2 separate regions of the Homo sapiens genome follow, and region 2 is linked to region 1. The links are contacts of gene promoters, found by promoter capture Hi-C in blood cells and fetal thymus (Javierre and others, 2016). All regions are on one chromosome and are shown on one strand. The core of a region is centred on a gene start or on the middle of the fragment in contact, and the rest is flanking DNA. Distances in the headings are between cores, read along the strand shown.

Region 1 (3,169 bases), core at 366-2,865:
TTAGGTTGGAATGAGCTTGTGCTCCAAGGATGGAAAGACCCACGCGGCTGAACAGCAATGAGCAAGGGGGAACAAAGCAGGGCATGGGAGCCAAGTTCAGGGGACTTCATAAACCTGAATACAAGGTTTAGGATATTCCAAGTTCAGCTGAGAGCCCTCTGGAAGCACTGAGTGGCCTTGATATTTCCATTTTCAGTCTATGTGTATATATATATATATACACACACACACATATATATGCACACGTGTATGTATATATCTGTGTGTATATATATAGATAAAAACAAAGTATATATGTGTATATATATGGGGGAGGTTCTTGCTGTGTCCCTAGGATGGTGGCAGTGGCACTGTCACAGCTCACTGCAGCCTCAACCTCCTGGGCTCAAGTGATCCTCCTGCCTCAGCCTCCCAAGTAGCTGGGACCACAGGCTTGCACCACCACATCCGGGTAATTTTTGTGTTTTTGTAGAGATGGGGTCTTGCTCTGTTGCCTAGGCTGGTTTTGAACTGAGCTCAAGCGATCCTCCCACCTTGGCCTCCCGCAGTGCTGGGATTCCAGGGGTGAGCTACCGCGTCTGGCTGATTATATTTTTCAAAGACTCCTCAGCCTGCGGCCATGTGCAGAACCAAGCCTGGGGCTTCAAAAGAATGCAGCAAAGGATAGCAGAGAGGCCGCTGTCCAAGTCTTCCATGAGATAGATACGGACGATGTGGCCTAGGGTGGTGACAGCCTGGGGGTGACAATGGGTGGCTCTGGGCTGTATTTTGGAGGCAAGGCCAAGTCCGAAGGATTTGCTGAGAGATTCATAGCAGGTGAGTAGAGAACAACTCCAGGGTGTCCAGGACCCTCCCATGAGCCTTGTGAGTGAGGCTGATGGTCCCATTTTACAGATGGGTAACCTGGAGGCGCGCGGTTCCCCTCCCATGAGCTTGTGAAGTTGATTCTCGTAGCTCCGAGGGGTCGAGTCCCTCGCGCCGGCTCCCCCCGCCCCCAACGCCAGCACCTGGGTCCCAGGGCTGCGCCCCCTCCTAGAGCCTGACCACGACCCCCGCCCCCGCCGATGAGCTCTGATTTACCCCCCAATCCCAAGCACCCCGCGCCCTCTCGCCACTTCCCCCGTGGTTTCAGGAAAGCGTTTGCCGAAGGTACCGGCTCCTAAGGCGGGTAAACTGAGGTAGGAGGCAACGCGTCTCCCGCCCGCGCGTGTGGGAAGCCCCCGCAGGCCCGGCGATTTACCTGGAGGAAGGCCTCGGCTGCGGCGCCCTGAACTGCTCACTGTCCCACCGCGGGGGAACCCCGGAAAACGAGTGGGAAAACGAGTGCTTCAAGACCCGCCTCGGGCCGCGCGGTGCCGCCTCACTAAACCTTAGTCGCTGCCACTGCGCATGCGCCCTTCCCGGCCCTTTCCCCGCCCTCTCAGTCGGCGGGAAAAGGAGGCGGGAGATGGCTCGTGCGCAGGTGCGTGCTAGGAGCGCGGCTCGTCAGGGCAGGCTGCTCTGCAGGGCAGGCGATCCGGGGCTCGCCTCCGCGCGGCATTCAGCGCGCAGGCGCGAGCTGGCCGCCTCACACGGAGTCGGCTTGTTAAGTGCGCACGCGCGGGAGTTTCTGGCAGAAAGCAGGCGAGCCTGGGCCGGCGCGGGGCCTTGTGGGAGGGCTTAAGGAAGTAAAATGGCGGACCTGGCGAACGAAGGTAGGGGAGGCGCCGTTGGGGACCGGCTGGCGGCCGGGGAACGGGCGGCGGGAGGACTAGGGGCCACAAGCCCTTGGGGGGAGCACCGCAGAGTGCAAGGGTTTCGTCCGCTCCAGGCTAGCGCCGTGGCGGGCCTTGCAGCCGCCCCCTATTGCGTCCCCTCAGGCCGGGCTCACCGGCCCGGCCCATCACTCCCGGCAACCCCAGCCACTGCAGCCGTCTGGCTAGAGGAGCCGGGTGGCCATCGGGATCGCAGCCCTAAGGCCCCTCTGCGTCGCAGCCAAGCTCGGGGCTGAAGGGGGCGGGAGGCGCGGCCCCAGTGCTTCGGCCACGGATGTAAATAGACCTTAGGGCCTGGTTGTGGCCCGGAGCGCGCCACGCTCCCTCCCCGCCCCCTCGTCCTCCGCCACCCGGCATCTCCCCTTCCCCGGCCTGGCTGCCTATCTCCTAAGCCCGTGAGGCCCTCGTCCTCCGCGGGCCAGCCGCACACCGCGGACGGAGGAAGCCCAGGCCGTTTTCACCCCGTCCCCGCCCCGAACTTCGGCCCCCACTTCCCGCCAGTTCCCCCCGGATCCTTCGGGGCGCTTCGTCTCCCCCTCATTTAGGCCCCGCCGCAGGATCTGGGCCGCCGAAAACCCTGGCTGCTCTTTGGCCCTTTTTGCTGCACTTCCAGACAAGAGACCGTGCGAGTCCCTCCTCTGTGGAGCGCTGACAGCCCACCTGAGTGTTTTTGACAAGGTTACACTTCCAGATCCCCCGAGAAGGCACCATAAGGCTGATGTCTGCTTCCATCCATAGTCGTGTTGCCATCGCTGTAGCTTCAAGACTTCTGAGGCCTATTTTTAGCTCCCCCCCTTTTCTAGTTGCACAAATGCAGGCAAGCTCTCTACCTGTCTGGCTCTGATTCCCCCATTCGGTGCTCCCTGTGACTGGAGGGTTTTCCCTACCGAATTGCAGTAATGAATGAATGATGATAGGAAGTGCTTGGTCTTGTGGAGCATTTAGGGTAGTTACCAGGTGTGGTGCAAAGTCTTGACATACTGTTTTCCCTGGTAGGAGGTATAGATACTGTTAGCCCCATTCACTTGATGAGGAGACTGAGTCAACGTGGTTAAGTCGCTTATCCAAGGCGTGTCACACAGCTGGGAAGGAGCAGGGATGTGAACCAAGATGGCCTGGCTTCAGATGCCAGACCACGGGTGCTCAGTCCCTGCAGATTCTGATTCTGTGTGGTGTTGGGCGGGCGCTGGGCATCTGTACAGGCAGCAGCACAGGTTCTCTCCCTGATTCTTGGCCATTTTATTCTATTTTATTTTTTGGGACGGAGTCTAGCTCTGTAGCCAGGCTGGAGTGCAGTGGCGCCATCTCGGCTCACTGCAATCTCCGCCTCCCGGGTTCAGGTGATTCTCCTGCCTCAGCCTCCCGAGTAGCTGGGATTACAGGCGCGCACCACCACACCCAGCTAATTTTTGTGT
Region 2 (3,169 bases), core at 367-2,866, 190 kb after region 1:
AGATGGGAGGAGCAGAGAGCGATGTCAGGAGTTGCAGCTGCGTTGCGGCAGAGGGGACTGGAAATTGCTGCTGCTGTGGGATCTGATGATTGTGGGTTGAAAGTCCTGGGCTTTGGCCAGGTGTGTGGCTCACGCCTGTAATCCCAGCACTTTGGGAGGCCAAGGCACGCCGATCATTTGAGGTCGGAGGTTCAAGACTAGCCTGACCAACATGGTGAAACATCTCTATTAAAAATACAAAAATTAGCCAGGTGTAGTGGTACACGCCTGTAATCCCAACTACTAGGGAGGCTGAGGCAGGACAATTGCCTGAACCTGGGAGACGGAGGTTGAACAGTGAGCCGAGATCTTACCACTGCACCCCAGCCTGGGCGACAGAGCCAGACTCCGTCTCAGAAAAAACAAAAGAAAGTCCTGTGCTTTGAAGGTTGTGTGCATGCAGCTGGGAGGCTTACTAGGCTTGTAGGTTTTGTGGTCTGGGCTCCGGCTCAGGCCAGGCCATGGAAGCAGAGGCCACACGATCCCAGGCAGGCTGGTGGCTGGGCCCACTGATCGTCACCCGTCCCACAGTGGCGCCCTGCTCAAGCCGTGGCTCTTCACGGAGATCAAGGAGCAGCGGCACTGGGACATCTCGTCGTCCGAGCGCCTGGACATCCTGCGGGACTTCACCAACTACGGCCTGGAGCACTGGGGCTCGGACACGCAGGGCGTGGAGAAGACCCGGCGCTTTCTGCTCGAGTGGCTGTCCTTCCTGTGCCGGTGGGCACCGGGGCTGGCTGGGGTGGGCGGCGCGTGGGCCGCGGCTGGTTAGAGCTGACTCAAGCCTGTCCTGCCCGCCCACCCGCCGCAGGTACGTGCCCGTGGGGCTGCTGGAGCGGCTCCCACAGAGGATCAACGAGCGGCCGCCCTACTACCTGGGCCGCGACTACCTGGAGACGCTGATGGCCAGCCAGAAGGCAGCCGACTGGATCCGCATCAGGTGCCTGGGTGGGCTGGAGTTGGGGAGCTGCAGTCGGGGGCCCGGGGTCACGGAGGGTACTTTGCAGGTCCTGGGCCTGACCTCGCTTTCCACCTGCTCTCCCACAGCGAGATGCTCCTTGGGCCAGTGCCCCCCAGCTTCGCCTTCTTGCCGAAGCACAAGGCCAACGCGTACAAGTAGCCTCAGGCTTTCCCAGGGGCACCCTGGGGCGAGGAGAGTACAATAAATTTTATTCTTTTAAAATCCAGGCCTTTCTGTGACCCTGAAGCAGCCCCTCCTCGGCCCCCACCTTCCCCAAACCTCTTAGCTGCCTCCATGGGCCCTGCCCCAAGCTGGGTGCTGCTGGTGCCCAGAGAGGCCTTGACCCCCAAGAAGGTAGCGGGTTGAGGACCCGGGGGGCCTCAGCCTGTGTGGGTGTGGATCAGGGCAGCCTGCCTGGAGGAGGCGGCCTCAAAGCTGTTAGGGGGGTGTTGCTGGAAGAGGCAAAGGCCTGGCCCAGAATCCTCCCTCCCATGGTGATGACCATGTCTGCCAACGTCTGCCCCTGCTTGCCCCCAACACCCAGAACCCCAACCAGTGGGCGCGCTGCAGGCTGGAACCCGCTGCCCCGAGTAACCAGGCAAACAGAACCCCACCAGGTTCTCAGCCTGTTCTCCGGTTGGGCCACTTGCACTCCCACTGCCGCCCTCCTGGCCTGTCTGGACCGGGCCCCCCGCTGCCCCATGCAGCACCCCAAACCGTTCTGTGCCCCTGCAGCTCCCCAGGAAGGTTTCAGCCCGCAGAGTCTGGAGGGGGCTGAGGTGCTGGGCAACCAGCCTGCTCCCACCTGTGCCGAGCCTCCTCCCGCTATGGGTACGATCGGGTGGGTGGGAGCACCTGCTGGAGAGGGTTCAGGGGCCCACCCGCCTAAGGGCCCTACCCACCTGGGCACCTTTGTCCACAGGCTCCTTGAACCTGTATCATCCCCCAGACCCAGAGAAAGAGGTGTTTCCAGCCCCACCAGCAGGTACCGGCCTCCCCTGAGCCCTTGACGAGGCTGGGAGTGGGTTTGAGTGTGCAGGCCCATCTTGCCCCTGCCCCGTCCCTAAGTGGGAGCCTGAAGGCATGGCCTCTGCTCCCCATGCTTCACACAGGTCCCCCAGATGAGCCCCAAAGACAAGCTCTGTGTCATCCATCACCCAGCCAGGGCCCCAAAGCAATATCTATGTCGTCCCCCAAAGGGGCCCCCCAATGGCAAGGTTCTTGTGGCATCTCCCAAACAGGCCCCCAGGCTTGGGCTGGGCCCCTCAGGCAGCAGCTGCTCTCAGGGCACCCGCCTGCCGCCCACAGGTTTCCAGATGGCCCCATGCGGGTGCTTCTTCGACCCCCGCATCTATCGGATCGAGTGGACCACCCCCGACCTGGGCCAGTCAGCCCTGTATAAGCTGGCAGCAAGCAGCGGGGGGCCAGCGGGGGTCCCCTCCGCCCCAGGCAGCTACCTCCTGGAGCCTCAGCCCTACCTCAAGGCCCCGGGGCTGCCTCCATACCCCCACTACCAGCAGGCACCCGGGGGGCCCCAGTTTCTCTTGCCCTACTTCCCGCCTGAGGGCCCCGGGCCAGAGGCTCTGGGTTTTGTGGGGGACGCAGGGCCCGCCGCCTTCGTGGAGCTGCCCCTACCGCCCCTAGAGGAAGGCCCGGCCCCGCTGCCACCCCCACCCCCCAAGGAGAACAAGCCGCCCCCTGTACTCATCACGCTGCCTGCAGAGCCCACACTGCCCCCAGACGCCTACAGCCACCTCCAGGGTCACCTCGGCCACTTCCCTGGGCCCGAACCCCTGGCCTTCCCCGTCAAGGAGCTGCAGGGCAGTGGGGCCCGACCTGGGGTGCCCCTGTACCCACCGGGCCTCAGCGAGCTCAAGGTGGCCGAGGTCAAGGAGGGGGCCCTGCTGGGAGCAGGCAAGGCCAAGGCCCCCAAGACGGCCAGAGCTTTGGCACTGCCTGACAAGGTTCTGCTGGAGGACGCCATGAAGCTCTTCGACTGCCTGCCAGGCGCCTCTGAGCCTGAGGGTACCCTGTGCGAGGTCCCTGGGCCGGCCCTGCCTGACAGCAGTGGTGGGAACTCAGCCGATGACATCCGCTCGCTGTGCCTGCCCGAGGAGCTGCTGTCCTTTGACTACAGCGTGCCTGAGATCCTGGACACCGTGTCCAACG

Evidence for each region. The method cuts DNA at HindIII sites, captures the fragments that hold promoters and counts their contacts. A CHiCAGO score of 5 or more calls a contact.
Region 2: a contact is called between the fragment with the promoter of PRR22 here and the fragment with the promoter of RANBP3 in region 1, in 1 of 17 cell types (naive CD4 T cells). The highest score is 5.3, in naive CD4 T cells.

The regions. Positions count from the first base shown.
Region 1 is chr19:5,976,586-5,979,754 of GRCh38, reverse strand. RANBP3 (RAN binding protein 3) reads left to right here and starts at 1,615. Exons shown (of 17, transcript NM_007322.3): 1 at 1,615-1,694. The coding sequence starts at 1,673. RANBP3-DT (RANBP3 divergent transcript) reads right to left here and starts at 1,352. Exons shown (of 4, transcript NR_046376.1): 1 at 1,241-1,352. RefSeq lists silencers at 1,222-1,271, 1,322-1,491, 1,722-1,831. The HindIII fragment of the contact is 6,470 bases long and covers 1-3,169 here.
Region 2 is chr19:5,783,193-5,786,361 of GRCh38, reverse strand. PRR22 (proline rich 22) reads left to right here and starts at 1,616. Exons shown (of 3, transcript NM_001134316.2): 1 at 1,616-1,831; 2 at 1,923-1,985; 3 at 2,309-3,169. The coding sequence starts at 1,702. It overlaps DUS3L (dihydrouridine synthase 3 like), which reads left to right. Exons shown (of 13, transcript NM_020175.3): 11 at 571-759; 12 at 851-979; 13 at 1,087-1,222. The coding sequence ends at 1,159. The HindIII fragment of the contact is 18,380 bases long and covers 1-3,169 here.